Linked DNA regions of Homo sapiens: region 1 is linked to region 2. The links are contacts of gene promoters, found by promoter capture Hi-C in human tissues and cell types (Jung and others, 2019). All regions are on one chromosome and are shown on one strand. Each heading gives the region's core, a stretch centred on a gene start or on the middle of the fragment in contact. The rest is flanking DNA. Distances are from core to core; before and after follow the strand shown. Region 1 has its middle 6.1 kb from the start of CYP3A4. Region 2 holds the start of CYP3A43 (cytochrome P450 family 3 subfamily A member 43).

Region 1 (7,375 bases), core at 1,006-3,505, 36 kb after region 2:
AAAAGTTCAACAGAATTTCAATGTGACCCAGCAATTCCCCTCTAAGTTATAGATCTGAGAGGATTAAAAACAGTTACTAAAATACACGGACTCACATATTTCTAACAGTCCAATTCACAAGGGCCAAAAGGTGCTAATAGCCCACATGTCCATCGATGGATGGATAAATAAATTGTGGTCTATCCATACAATGGAATATTATTCGGCCATAAATGGAATGAAGTACTGACGCATGCTACAGAATGGATGAACCGCAAAAAAAATGGATGAACACATGCTACAGAATGGATAGCCTCACTTTACTATGAAGTGAAGGCCAGAAACGAAAGTCCATATATTGCATCATACAAAATATCCAGAAGAGGGAAGCCCACAGAGACAGAATGTGCAATGGTGGATGCCAGGGTCTGGGGAGAGGGGAGAGTGGGGAGAAACTGCTCAACTGGTACAGGCTTTATTTTGGAATGATGGGAACATTTTGCAACTAGATAGAGGTAGTGATTGCAGAACACAGAATGTACTGAATTCCACTGATTTTTTTCACCTTAAAATGGTTAATTTTCAGTCCTGAGATTGGATAATCATAAAAAAATGGTTAATTTTATGTTATGTGAATTTCATCCCTATACATATTTTAAACCTCAGAAATATACACTAGCAGGCATGGAACAGGTCACTGTGGTGCCTGCCAAGCCCGGTGATGTTATCTGGGGTCCCCGGCCAGCCTTAAGCCTCTTGCTGACCGGTGGAGGGCAGAACCTTTGCCCTAAAAGTATAATATCCACATGCTGGCATGATTCCTGGCCAGATGGCTTCTTTATTAGCAGTAATTGAAACTGCCTCGATACAGACACTGTACCTTGCAACCAAAAAATGACTCAACAATGATAATAAGGGTTAAGCTGGGCCTTTCTCTCTTTGCCAGTTAAATTATATTTATTATAGCTTGACATGAAAAACAAAGCAACTCCAACAGGTATCACAAGGGCAAAGGACATGAACATTTTATCAAAGAAGAAATGCAGCTGTCAAAAATACAGAAATATTCAACCTTGTTCATAATAAAGTGGCTGGGCTCAGTGGTTCATGCCTGTAATCCCAGTGCTTTGCAAGGCTGAGACAGGAGGATCATTTGAAGCCAGAAGTTCAAGACCATCCTAGGCAAGTCAGTTCAATACCAGACTTCATGTCTACAAAACATCAAAAAATTAGCCAGGCATGGTGATGCATGCCTGTTGTCCCAGCTACTCAGGAGGCTGAGGCAGGAGAATTGCTTGAGCCTGGGAGGCTGCGGTGGCGGTGAGCCATGATTGTGCCATTGTACTCCAGCCTGGGCAATGCAGCAAGACTGTCTAAATAACAAAAATAATAGTAAAGAAAAGGATTGGGATGCCATTTCTTGCGTATTCAATACACAGAGTTAAAAGTAATTTCTACGTTTTCTATTTTTTTATTACTAAAAAAAGCTGGACCATTCTCACAGCCTGAAATGCTTCTCACTTTCCCTTCTTCTGTCCAAACACTTCTCTATGATAATGCAAACAGTCACTCCTTTAGGAAGACTTCACCCCAGGTAGTTCCAGATCCCCTTATCTCTGCCTTCCCAGAACTCCTGGTGTCTCTCCAGTTCCCTCCGTGTGGTGAAGTACCCTACCTAGGGTTTCAGTATGGCTCTGTCTGCAAAGGTCTTGTTCACACCTTCCCTTATGGTTCTGTTGCCCTGTGTTGTGTCATAGCACAGGGCACAGTGGAGAACCCATTCACACTGATAGAGAGGGCCCCATGGTCCTGGAGATAACCATGTAACCGATCAGAATAGGGCATTGAGGGCTGGGTGTCAGGCGTGGGCTGCACTTGGGTGGGCAGGTCCCCTGGAAAGTCACTGGGTTTGGCAAGCTTCCTAGTAACATGTCTCTCTGGGGTCCCCTTGGAACTTCATGCAAAAATGCTGGTTGCTGGTTTATTCTAGAGAGATGGTTCATTCCTTTCATTTGATTATCAAAGAAACTCATGTCCCAATTAAAGGTCATAAAGCCCAGTTTGTAAACTGAGATGATCTCAGCTGAATGAACTTGCTGACCCTCTGCTTTCCTCCAGCCTCTCGGTGCCCTTGAAATCATGTCGGTTCAAGCAGCCTCATGAGGCATTACAAAGTTTAATTATTTCAGTGATTATTAAACCTTGTCCTGTGTTGACCCCAGGTGAATCACAAGCTGAACTTCTGACAAGAACAAGCTATCATATTCTTTTCAATTACAGAAAAAAGTAAGTTAATTGATAGGATTTTTTTTGTTTAAAAAAAATGTTACTAGTTTTGAAAAGGTAATATGTGCACATGGTAAACACTAAGAAGGTATAAGAGCATAATGCTTTTATACTACTAAGAATAATGTTTTCTCTAAGTTTTTTTTGGTAGATGCTTTCATCAGATTAAGAAAATTCCCTGCTATTAGTTGTTGAAGGTTTTTATATCATAAATGAAAGTTGAATATTATTATCATATATTATTAATATATTGTTATTGAACTATCAAAGCCTTTTCCTAAAACCATTGAGATGATCTTATAACCATTCTCCTTTAACCTGTTGACGATATCATTGGTATTTATACTATTTCTCTGTTAACCATTCTTGAGTCTCAGGTTTAAATTCAACTTGGTCATGGTGTGTCATCTTTGATCATTGCTGTCTGTGGCTTGCTACTGTTTTGTTTAGGATTTTTGCACTGATGCTCATCAATGAGACTGGCATGCCATCTTCCTTTGCAGTCCTGATTTTTTTCTGATTTGGATCATGTGGTTATGGCCCTCATGGAATGAGTTGGGCATGATGCCTTTTTTTCATGTCTCTGGATTGATGGGACACTTTGGATTCTCTCCAGATGGCCCTCAATGGTCCCTGCCTCCTCATTGTTAGGCCCCTGGGCAAGCCCTTCTCATTTCTGGTAGGCCCAGGAACCTGTGGGGGTTTTGTTTGTTTGTTTGTTTCTTGAGTCGGAGTCTCACTCTGTCACCCAGGCTGGAGTTGGAGTGCAATGGCCCGATCTTGGCTCACTGCAACCTCCACCTCCCAGATTCAAGCAATTCTCCTGCCTCAGCCTCCTGAGTAGCTGGGATTACAGGCACCCACCGACACACCCTGCTAATTTTTGTATTTTTAGTACAGATGGGGTTTCACAATATTGGCCAAGCTGGTCTCGAACTCCTGATCTCATGATCTGCCCGGCTTGGCCTCCCAAAGTGTTGAGATTACAAGCATGAGCCACCACACCCAGTGAACCTGTGGTTTTTAGAAGCTCCCCATGCATGTGAATGCTGTGAGCATCCCAGGATGACAGCCACTGTGTGTTCAGCTGTTGGAACTGTGAGAAAGCACCAGTGGGACCCTCTCCAGCACCTGCCTGCTGAGGTCATGGAAGAGGCTTGTTGGGGAGATGATGCCCTGGCTGACTCCTGAAGGATGGTTAGGAATGCACCAGATGGAAGCTGGGTTGGACCCACTCTATGCTGAAGAACAGCTTGTGTGGACACAAGGAGACACGGATATGTCATTTTTGTAGAGCCTGAGGAGTGTCCAGTCACACCATTTGCTTAAAACATCATGCACACTTGGAAAAGTGGACTGAGACCGAATGAAGAAGCTAACAGTGGCCAGATCAGAAAGGGTCTTGTGTTACTTCCTAGAGATACTTAGATTTTATCCTGTGGGTGATAGGAGCAGTTGGAGGGACTGAAGACAAGGAAAGAAACATGTTTCAAGATCTATGTTTTTCAAGACGCTTTCTGGTGGCTGAGTAGGGAATTCCCTGGATAAGTCCTGCCCAGGGTCAGGCAAAACAAGTTAGGGGGTTACTGAAATAAGGAGTATGAGAAATGGTGTAGGTTGTGCTGACGTTTTGTAACACATCTCATGATGATCTTCATTTCCTTCACTAATTTCCTGTTTCATTAATTCCCTTCCACGTGCTCTTCTGAAATTTGCCTCACATTCTCTGATTTCTCTTTTACCTGTTGGTTTCATCACCTTTTACTTTTTGCTTTCCTGGAAACACAAATGATTCTGATTGTGACATGTCAGAATTATTTGCAACATTTGCCTTTCTGCTGAAACCATGAGTTCACTGAATACACAATTTAGTAAAGTGTAGGATGCACATGTCGTTTTCGTGGTCACAACCAGCTCTGTAGCATTTTATAACTACACTGGCAGTGTGCTGGGAGGTGTAGAGAGAAATATTTATCACATGTGTGGCTGACACAACCTGCCAAGTTATTTTAGGAGCCTCCTTGGAATCCCAGCAAGAATGCTACCGGCACAATTTGTAATCACAGCATCCTGCTCCATGCCTTGGCTTCATGGCATAGTCACTTCTGCAAGTCTCTTTCCAGCTGTCTGTTCCCATGTCTATAAAGTATGAGTTAAATCATCCTAACACTACTCATCTTACAAAGTTTTCTTGCTGATGTTAAGAGAGTTGGGAAAGAACTGTATAAACTGTGAAGTGCCATGGAGATGTTAGTGGTTACTTTATCAAGAAATAGACACTCTAGAATGGAGTAGAAAGCCAACAGTTATGATTGAGTCCTCCTCCTCTTCTTCTTTTTATTAATTTATAAAGAAAAGAGGTTTAATTGACTCACAGTTCCATATGGCTGGGGAGGCCTCGGGAAACTCTCAGTCATAGCAGGAGGCAAAGGGGAAGAAGGCACCTTCTTCACAAGGCGGCAGGAGAGAGAGAGCTCCTGTTCTTTTTTGTCATAAAGTCTACAGAAGTGCTTATACTTCAGGACAAGGGCAGGCAGAGAGAAGGAAGGACATTGCTTCACCCCAGCCCTCACTGACGAGTTTGCTAGGGGACCTCACTTTGTCCCAGAGTAGGGGCAGAACTCTGGCCACTACCCATTCAGAAGGCCTGGGCTGCACTGCTAGTTCCTCACTAACTCTGTGTGGCCTTGGGCAAGGTTGGGCCTGTGTTAACAGATTATGACCCTGGGCTCTCAAGCTAGAGGATCTAAATTTGAATCCTGGCTCTGCTAAAGCAATTAGTGATGTAAACTTTAATGGGTCAGTTAACCTTCCTGTGGCTTAGTTTGCTCATCTGTAAAATAGGGATCATAACAGTATCAATACCACATGATTGTTGGACAGATTGAATCAGTTAATGCAGGGGAAGTACTTAGCATGACACGTATTCACTATCATTTCCTGGAGTAAGAGCTGTGTGTGAGTGGGTGTGAGCATGTGTGAAACCTTTTCTCTGCAATCTCAGTTAAGAAACCAATCCAGAATTTAAAGTTCAGGGCCTAAATGGGTGGTTATCTTCTCCCAGTTCCATCCTATCCCACCTTTGCTCTTCCTCCCGCCCACAGGAGCTGTTGGTCCTTGATTGGGCTGGAAGACCTGGTGGACCCTAAGTGATCTATAAGAGGAGAATAGAGAACAGGGAATGTCTTCAAAAATCCTAGAGGGACACAGAGGCTGAGAGGCAGGCAGTCCTGCAGGGGTCTTCTGATTGGGACAAGGAGAACCTTGGTCTTCACAGGCCAATTCTGGTCAGTTTCCCCCATGGACAGATGAGGAAACAGGCCCAGGAATATCCAAGGTCTCACACTTCCCATCTGTCAAGTCTTGTTGATGCTGTTGTATTCATGTCTCTCAAAGGGAGATAGAGTTTAGGGAAGAAAGAAGGATCAACTGTGTCTGATACCACTGGGAGCTTAAGTAAAGGGTTCTTTTACTTCATAGCATTTATCCCAATTTGTAATTCAGTATTATTTGTGTGGCTGTTTGGTGTCTCTTTCTCCTATATGAGTGCTAGCTTCATAAGGGCAAGGATTTTGATTCTTTAATATTTAGTGCTTGCCACATGCCCTGAACACAGCAGGCATACAGGCTAACCAACATACAGTGGCATGAAAGTCATGAAAGTGAGACACCTACCTCCTCCAGTGCCAAGAGAGCATAACCATGCACCTGTCACTCTCCTCAACACCACCCCCAAGCATGAGGCCCAAAAGCATTAGCTAATCCCCTCCTCCAGCCACTAAAACTTAAAGGCCAGGTGTGGTGGCTCCCATCTGAAATCCCAGAACTTCAGGAGACAGCAGCAGGAGGATCACTTGAGGCCAGGAGTTTGAGATCAGCCTGGGCAACATAGCTAGGTCCCATCTGTACTAAAAATTAGCTGGGCGTTGTTGCATGCCTGTAGTCCCAGCTACTAAGGAGGCTGAGGTGGGAGGATCACTTGAGCCCAGGAGGTGGAAACAACAGTAAGCTATAATCACAGCACTGAACTCTAGCCTGGGCAACAGAGTGACACCCTGCCTCAAAACAATTTTAAAAATAAATAAGAGCAAAACTTAGATACCACGTGGTCACCCCAACATGCAAAATCAAGTTTTCCCCTACTGAGAAGAATGGGGACTTGACAGCTGAGTTACAGAGAGATAATCTTCTTCTTCTTTTTTTTTTTTGGTTTACATCCTCAAGATCATGACTTGTGAAATTTGAATCGAATACACATGTAATTCCAGAGCAATGTTGCCTCCGCATACCATCAGCAATTCACTTGGCTACTGGAAGTCAGGATAAGCTTCCCAGAAGAGAGGTACCACTTGGGCTACCAGTATAAAAGGATGAAAATATCAGAGTGATGGTGTTCTTTACAACGTTGAGTCCCTGGACAGCCTGTCCACTGATGCTGATATCTGAGCCTAATGCTTCTCTGAATGTTGAGATTGAACTTTGATCCAATGAAACTAGAACGAGAAAGAAGATAAGTCTTTCATTGTTGATAAGGACATTATGTTTCTCATACTTGTATGATTATTTTTCCTTAGCTGTACTATAATTATCTGCTTATTTGTCTCTGCTCTATGTGCTTAGGGTACAAAGTTGACCAAGACCAACTTTGGTTGGAAGCATAGTACTAAGAGCACAGTACTGAGAGCACAGCTTTAAAAAACATGATGAAGGCTTTAATACAGGAAATGAGCAGGGGAGAGGCATGTGGTGGTTGGATGTATCTTCCTTGACACAGTCAGTGCAGCTCTCAGTAGTCAAGTCCCTACATGTTAGAAGATGTTACCTTCTGTGGAATTAAGTGGCAGAACTTGCCTTCAATTATTTTCCTTTGCAGAACAACACCAACTGCATTAGTTAGGACACAGTGCTGGCTGCATTTAAGTCCCAAGCGATGATTAGTCTCTCACTGTTGGTATAGATTCAAACCAATCAGACCACCTCCTAAAGTTTGTAGGGCAGGTAAATCCTCATCTTAGAATAAAAATCATCTTACCAAGTATGTGTTTTAGAGGCAAGAAGAAAACATATTTGTTTCTGTAAGAGTTTTGTTTAAAAAAAATATAAGAAAGGC
Region 2 (7,636 bases), core at 4,474-6,973:
CGCGAGGAGGTGGCAAATAGTGGTGCTTTCTATTAACACTTCTGTTGTAAAAAGCACCAAAGGGGACAATGGAACAGGAATTAAAAGAAATTAAAGAGTGCGTAAGCAGAAACTGAGTTGTATATGAAAAAAACCCAACTTCCCCTGAAAAAGAGAAAGAGCTGGAGTCTTTTAAAAACTAACTGCCTGTTTTTCTGAGGCTAGTGAGCCTTATCTCTCCTCCCTTCCCAGGCATTGCAAAGACCCTGTTTCCCTAGCTGTGCAGCTGCAAGGTCACTAGACAGATAAACTCAAGTCACAAAACGTGTTTTTCCTTGAAATGTAAGAAATGATGTAATGCATTTCTCAATTGAATAACTGTGTTTGTTTCTTACTTCTCTAGTATGCTTCCCTCTCCACAGATCTCCCCCCTCCCACGAAATGCTTAAAAGGTAACTAAACTCTTTGTTCAGAGCTCAGTCCTCTGGATGTTAATCCGACTGGGCTGGTGCACCTAAATAATTAATAAATATCCTCCTGAACCCCATCAGTCTCTCTGATTCCTTAAAATCCCACTACATTTCAATCCTCATCTTTTTTGCTGCCTCCTCTGTGAGACCCCAAAAAGTCACAATGATTAACTAAAAGCAGCTGAAGTCTGCATGATCCCAGTGCTAGAGTGAATGCTTAATAAATGTTCCCAAATTTGAGTGCCCTTAAGAGGTTCAGACTGGAATTCTTCCAGGGCATTTCATTCACGTATGTCTATTTAGTTAATTGATTCTTTCCTGATTTGGAAATTCTCTTTCTAGGTGTATTAGTCCATTTTCACACTGCTATAAAGAACTACCTGAGACTGGGTAATTTATAAAGAAAAGAGGCTTAATTGACTCACAGTTCTCCATGGCTGGGGAGGCCTCAGGAAACTTAAAATCATGGTGGAAGGTGAAGGGGAAGCAAAGCATGTATTACATGGAGGCAGGAGAGAGAGAAAGACAGAGAGAGAGAGAAGAGGTGTCACACTTTTTTTTTCTTGTTTTGTTGTTTTGTTTTTTTTTCTATTATTATTATACTTTAAGTTTTAGGGTACATGTGCACAACGTGCAGGTTTGTTACATATGTATATATGTGCCATGTTGGTGTGCTGCACCCATTAACTCATCATTTAGCATTAGGTATATCTCCTAATGCTATCCCTCCCCCCTCCCCCCACCCCACAACAGTCCCCGGTGTGTGATGTTCCCCTTCCTGTGTCCATGTGTTCTCATTGTTCAATTCCCACCTATGAGTGAGAACATGCGGTGTTTGGTCGAGGTGCCACACTTTTAAAACCATCAGATCTTGTGAGAATTCATTCACTATCATGAGAACAGCATGGGTGAAAACACCCCTATGATCCAATTCCTCCCACCAGGTCCCTTCCTTGACACATAGGGATAACAATTCAAGATGAGATTTGGCTGGGGACACAGAGCCAAACCATATCACTAGGTGAGGTTTTTTTTTTTTATCTTTTGAACTAATAATGAGTTTGTGTATCACTACATCCATTGAATTACAGAGGGTTACTGAGGCCCTTTGCTGACACCTTCTTTCCTGTTTTCTCAGAGGTGTTTATGCTTTTCCTTCCCTCTAAACACTGACCTTGTTTTAGGATCTGGCCATCCTTAAACATTCCTGCACAGAGGAGCTCTGGAAGAATCATAGTGTTCTTATTTCTATGGAATGACAACCATATTCAAGGCTTCCACTGGCTTCATAGAAATGTGAGCACCTTCCAGCTACACCCAAATCTCTGTGGTCAGATGATTTGATTGATATAAACTACAGTAAATGTGATTGACCTATATGTTCTCTGAATGGCACTATGCAGAGGAACCAATGACTAAAGAATAAATTTCAAGGCCATTCCTCCTCTTGTGCAATCTGGCCCTCCAACTGGTGATCCTTACTTGATAAGCACAATGCCAGTCATGCTCACTTTTTTTTTTTCTCAAAATGATCAGTCACACAGAGTCAGTTTACTGCTTCTGTACATCAACTATCCTGCAGGAAAACCCATTAAGTCTGGTGCTCCTTATGGCAGGCCTGCCTGCAACTCATCTTTGATGGGTTATGTGTGAACTCCATCAATTGCAGGTTCTGGATCCTTGCAGAACTTCCCACTCTGGTGTTACTGAGGGATGGAAGACTGGAGGAAAAAGAGAGGCTGCATCCCGCCGATGTAACCATGCAACTGCTGGTGCCACAAAGTAGGCCCTATAAGGGTAAGTTAGGAAAGTGTGGCTGAAAATTATGGTATGCATAAATAGTTTTAAATGCCCCTTATGTGCTTTCAGCTGAAAGAGAGGTCTTCCAAAATTCAGGAACATTTCTGTTGATAGAAAAGTTTCACTGTGCTACATAGCATAAGTAACCATAAAATATTCCAGACAGTTGAATTAGAAACTTGATTTCTCTTCTTTATAGGTTAGCTTTTCTTAGATCCTAAATATTCAGTACAAATAAATAAATCTTATAAAATGTGATAAAGCTGAAAAATTGCATGAAGAGAATGTGTTTGAAGGACCCCACAGTGGCACCCTGGCCAGGCCCAGCTGTTAGCTTGGTTCCCTCTTTGGGGATCTTTTCCTACTCACACATCGAAAATAACCTCTTGGGTTTCCAGTTGTTTATAATCCATTATCTGCCCATGCTAAATTCTGGTTGTTAGTCTAGGTAGATCAAAACTCATAGTCAATCAGAAAGCATCCCCAGGATTGAATGATGTCAGTAAACACTCTTAGTAACAGAAATTGGAAGTTGAATGAAGAGGAGGTGGATAATGTTTATTTACTTCTTCAACGGATCTGTGTAACATCTGTAGGGTCAAGAGAACATTCCTCTATGGAGGTTTGATATTTGAGTCTGAGAAATGAACTAACAGTAGATCAATTAATAGGAGATAATCCTTATAAATTTATCTCATGAATATGCATGGGAGCCTTGAAAGATATGATACTCAAAGAATGGCCTGATGATTGAAGCTTAAATAGCATTCTGAGCTATAAAAATGTAGTATCTTCTGATGGGGAGTGGGTGACACAAGACATGAGAGAGTGAGGGAAGAAAAAGCATGATAAACAAAAGTCATCTTATTATAATGTCTGTCAGGCATCAGTGCTCCAAAGAACAAGTATTATCAACCTTAGTCTCCCTTTCTGTGAGCTAATATTATTTTTTTCTTTTTTTTTTCTTTTAGACTAAGTTTTGCTCTTGTTGTTCAGGCTAGAGTGCAATGGCGCAATCTTGGCTCACTGCAACCTCTGCCTCCAGGGTTCAGGCGATTCTCCTGCCTCAGCCTCCCGAGTAGCTGGGATTGCAGGCACCTGCCACCACACCCAGCTAATTTTTGTATATTTAGTAGAGACAGGGTTTCATCATGTTGACCAGGCTGGTCTTGAACTTCTGACCTCACGTGATCCACCCACCTCGGCTTTCCAAAGTGCTGGAATTACAGGTATGAGCCACCATGCCTGGCCCTGCTAAGATTCTTTTTCATGAGATTATAGGGAGGGGGCTCAAGACCATTGCTTTTTTTTAGGAGGATCTTCCTTTAGGTATGAGAACTTCAGAGAAAGCCCCTTCCTATATTTTGGGAGAAATAGCAGGGTTGGGAGACAGGAGAACATAAGAGTTAGCTTGGTTCTGAAGACTTTCTGAGACCTTTCAATTTCCTTTGGTTCAAAGTCCTCAACATGCTTAAGTGCCATATTTTGGGGTTTCATTTTTGGAGCCCCAACTTTCCCCTGTCATAAACTTCCCTAGAAAATGTACATACTAAAGCTGAGTTGATGCTTGTGGAGAGGACAATTGAATTGGTAGCTGAGTCGCAAGGAATCACATTAAACCAGTATAAACCAGTCTCACATTCCTAGCAATGTCAATCCAGTTAAACAGCTGTGCCTCATTTCAGGAGGTGATGTTGCAGGTCTGCTGTCATGAAAGATAGGTCTGTATATGGTGCAGTTAAACAGGTACTTAATAAGAGGTCATTCTACCAAAGCAAAAGGAGACCAAAAGTTAATCATTTAGCAGACTAGTTTCTGAGTTCACAGGGCAGCCAGACAAAAAGATTTCTACATGTTGGTTTTGAAACAGCTCCAGTTGGAGTAGAGGTAGGCAATGGTGATCTGACAGATTTTTTTTCTCTCCTATAGCTCCTTAGGGCCAGATCTGAAAGACTTTAAGTTGTTGCAATTTCTCTGGAGTCTGCTCTATCACAAAGAATTCTGCAAAAATCACATTTCCTGCCTTTGTGGACCAAACCAATGTATTTCTTAAATGTATTTGATATCTCATGCCTCCCTAAAAGAATAAAACCAAGCTGCACCCTGACCACCTTGGGTACATGTTCTTAAGACCTCCTGAAGGCTGTGTCATGGGCCATGGTCACTCATATTTGGCCCAGAATAAATCTCTTCAAGTATTGTACAGAGTTTGGCTCTTTTTGTTGGCAGCATGTATTAACTCATTCTCTATTACAATTCCCCTGTCTTGATGAATGGGCTCTGTTGAGGCAGGGGGCAAGGTGAATCTCTTGGGTGGTTACAGTGAAAATCCATACAAAATTTTACATGCATATGTGCTGGAGGCCCACAATATATGAGACTAAAATAAGGACTGAATGAGTAAAGCTTAAATAGCATTGTAAGCTAAAAAGTAGGGAGTGGCTTCTGATAGGGAGTTTCTGACACAAGTTATGGGAAGGTGAAGGGAGAAAACACATGATGAACAAAGGTTATTTTATTGTGGAGATAAAGTCTCTCAGGTAGCAGTGCTCCAAAGAATAAGTATTATCAAACTTTTTCTCTTTTCCTGTGAATTAGTTTTCTGATTGATGAGATTATTTGGAGAGGCTCAAGACAATTGCATTCTTTTTGGAAGATCTTCCCTTAGTCAGATAAGAGAACTTCAGAGCAACCCTGCACTTCAGGAGGGAAAGAATGGGGGATGGGTAGACAGAAGAGGGTCAGAGATTCTGAAGACATTTGTGAAGTCTTTCAGTCTTCTTTAGTTCAAACTACTCAGTATGACAAAGTTTTATTTTTTTTTTTGAGACGGAGTCTTGCTCTGTCACCCAGGCTGGAATGCAGTGGTGCAATCTCCGCTCACTGAAACCTCTGCCTCCTGGGTTCAAGCGATTCTCCTGCCTCAGCCTCCCAAGTAGCTGGGATTACAGGTGTGTGCCACCATGCCTGACTAATTTTTGTATTTTTAGTAGAGAAGGGGTTTCACCATGTTGGTCTGGCTGGTCTTGAACTCCTGACCTTGTGATTGGCCTGCCTCCACCTCCCAAGTGCTGAGATTACAGGTGTGAGCCACCGCACCCAGACTAAATTTTACATTTTCAAATGTTGTATTAGGAGTCCTAACATATTAATAATATTTTATGTGTTCACAGTATTTGGCACTTAGGTAACTTCCCCTCCGTTATCTCTTTTATCTTCAAAACAAATAAGAAAAAGATGGGCCCAATTAGCACTTCAGGTCTTAGAGTTAAGAGCAAACATGCCTGCATAGTTACTCACATATAGAGGAGTACCAGGCTGGTAGCCACAAGAACCCATGTTTCCATGGCAAAGTTTGGAATGAGATCCATCACCAGTTTTCTTTTTCAGCTCTGTCTTCTGAGTTTTTCTTTCAGCTGTGTGCTGCTCTTTGCTGGGCTGTGCATATAGAGCTTTGTTTCTCTGCCCAGAGGTGATTTAGTTAATGTTAACAGCGATATTTATGTGCTGGAGAAGGAGGTGGGTCTACAGCGGCAGCCAGTAGAAAAGCCACTTATGCTACTCCTCATATGGAGGGATTTGGGTACCCTTTTCAAATTGACAATTGGCAAATAATTATGGCTGTCCTTATTTTGGCCTCCTTTGATTTCCTATTCTGTGAACAATCAGTAAACAAATCAGTCACTGCTATTGGTAAGCCCAAAGGTTATAGATTCTCAGGAACCTAAAGAAAAATACTTCTGCAAGAACATCTGCCCAGCAACTGCCTGTCCAACCTCAAACTGATGTCAGTCTTGTTATTGATCTTTATAGCCAAGGATAATCATTCCAAAACAAATATGTAATCCTTCTCATTATTTTTTTAAACTTTGTCTTACTTTACCTACCTGAATAAGCACATAGTTTACCTTGGCACGCATATTCCCATTGCAATGCTTTATTCCCAAATAAAAATAATTCTTTTTAGAAAGCCTATCTCTGTTTGTTATCTAGGTTGCCAAATCATGCCTCCAGGTAAACAGACAAGAAGGACTCCCTGTGCCTCAAAAGCAAAAACAAACCCAAGAGGCCATGGCAGGTTTAGGTGATGGTCATGTTCTCTGTGTTCTTAGTAAGTGTTGCAAAACCTATTTTTCTGTAGCCAAGTCAAATAACATTTTCTGAAAAAATCTGTACCTGGGAATTTTCCAACTGCTCACCAACAGATCATGTGGTAAGAACTAACTGACCACCTAGGAACAGCCAATTAAGAGACATGTGACTTGGGGCTTAAAGGCTGTCTAATCAAGACTCTTTTCTTCACTCCTCTGACTCCTCTATCCTGCTCTGTGGTTTTTGACTTTATAGCTCTCCACCTCCGAGGCTGCATCTCCTCAATCTGCAGACTGTGTTTTATAGAAAATGAAGCTCTCCCTCTGTCCTCCACAGATCCCACAATCTTTACTCATATTTCCTGGTGATGAGGAAGGGATCAAAATTGGCTCTCAAGATCCTCTCCCTTGTCATCTGGACTAATCAATGCATTGGCACCAGCAAGAGTCCTCTAAGCTCAGTTATCTTCCTGGCCTGGCTGTTTTGTGGAAAAATCAGTAAATCCTCTTACATCCAAGATCTCACATTTAGGATGAGGTCTTGAGGTCTTTATTTTTTTCAGGGAACCTGCCCTTCTGGCTCTATGGCTACCCACTTGTGGGGTATGCTTGCACTTGGAGGGGCATGCCCATGTTTCTTGGGGTGCATTCATGCTGCATCAAGCAAGTTCATGCCTCACAGGATACTCCATGCTTCAGTGTTGCAAGGACTATCGCATTTTATTTGCCCTTGAAGGGACCCCTTCCTAAGGTGAGGGCTATGCATAACCTAGGTCCTAAGGCCATGGTCTCTAAGGCCTGCCATCGGGTAATTCGGTGGCTCTGTCTCTGATCAATCACTATCAGGTACTCTGGCAGTTTTTCAAGTTTAAAATTTAAAGGTAAAGGCTCGACAGAAATGGATGTGAGAGATACACCTAAATTGAACTCCGAAGCATGCAATGAGGATAAGAGGAGTCTGGACTTCTCAAAGACAGTAAGAGGCTTTCTTTCAATCTGCATTTTTGAAAGTTTCAAACACAATTGGGACTTTGGCTGTGTTTTACTAGGAGACTAACCTGAAGAGTTAACCCATGTCTCAGAAAATCTGAAAAACTTGAAGACCCTAAAATGGAGAGTCCCATATCTTCCTGCTGCTGCACTTGCATTCTACCTCCACTTTTCCCTTTTTACCATCACTGTCTTTGTCTGGAACATTGCAGGGACCTGGCAACTTGGTACCAGCAGGGGCCATTGAGCCCCTGGCTCCTTCATGATGATTGAAAACTGGGTGGGTCTCTCATGAGTTTTGGACTT

Evidence for each region. The method cuts DNA at HindIII sites, captures the fragments that hold promoters and counts their contacts. A contact is called where the count stands out against the background at its distance.
Region 1: a contact is called between a fragment that was not itself captured here and the fragment with the promoter of CYP3A43 in region 2, in 1 of the 25 tissues and cell types used here (liver).

Annotation. Positions count from the first base shown.
Region 1 is chr7:99,786,596-99,793,970 of GRCh38, reverse strand. No RefSeq gene overlaps it. Among named protein-coding and RNA genes, the nearest start is that of CYP3A4, 6.1 kb to the right of the region's middle. RefSeq lists enhancers at 1-963, 2,068-2,082, 1,965-3,763, 3,822-4,105, a cis regulatory region at 2,511-2,531 and a promoter at 1-7,375. The HindIII fragment of the contact is 3,979 bases long and covers 266-4,244 here.
Region 2 is chr7:99,826,100-99,833,735 of GRCh38, reverse strand. CYP3A43 (cytochrome P450 family 3 subfamily A member 43) reads right to left here and starts at 5,723. Exons shown (of 13, transcript NM_057095.3): 1 at 5,550-5,723. The coding sequence starts at 5,620. The HindIII fragment of the contact is 7,263 bases long and covers 3,831-7,636 here.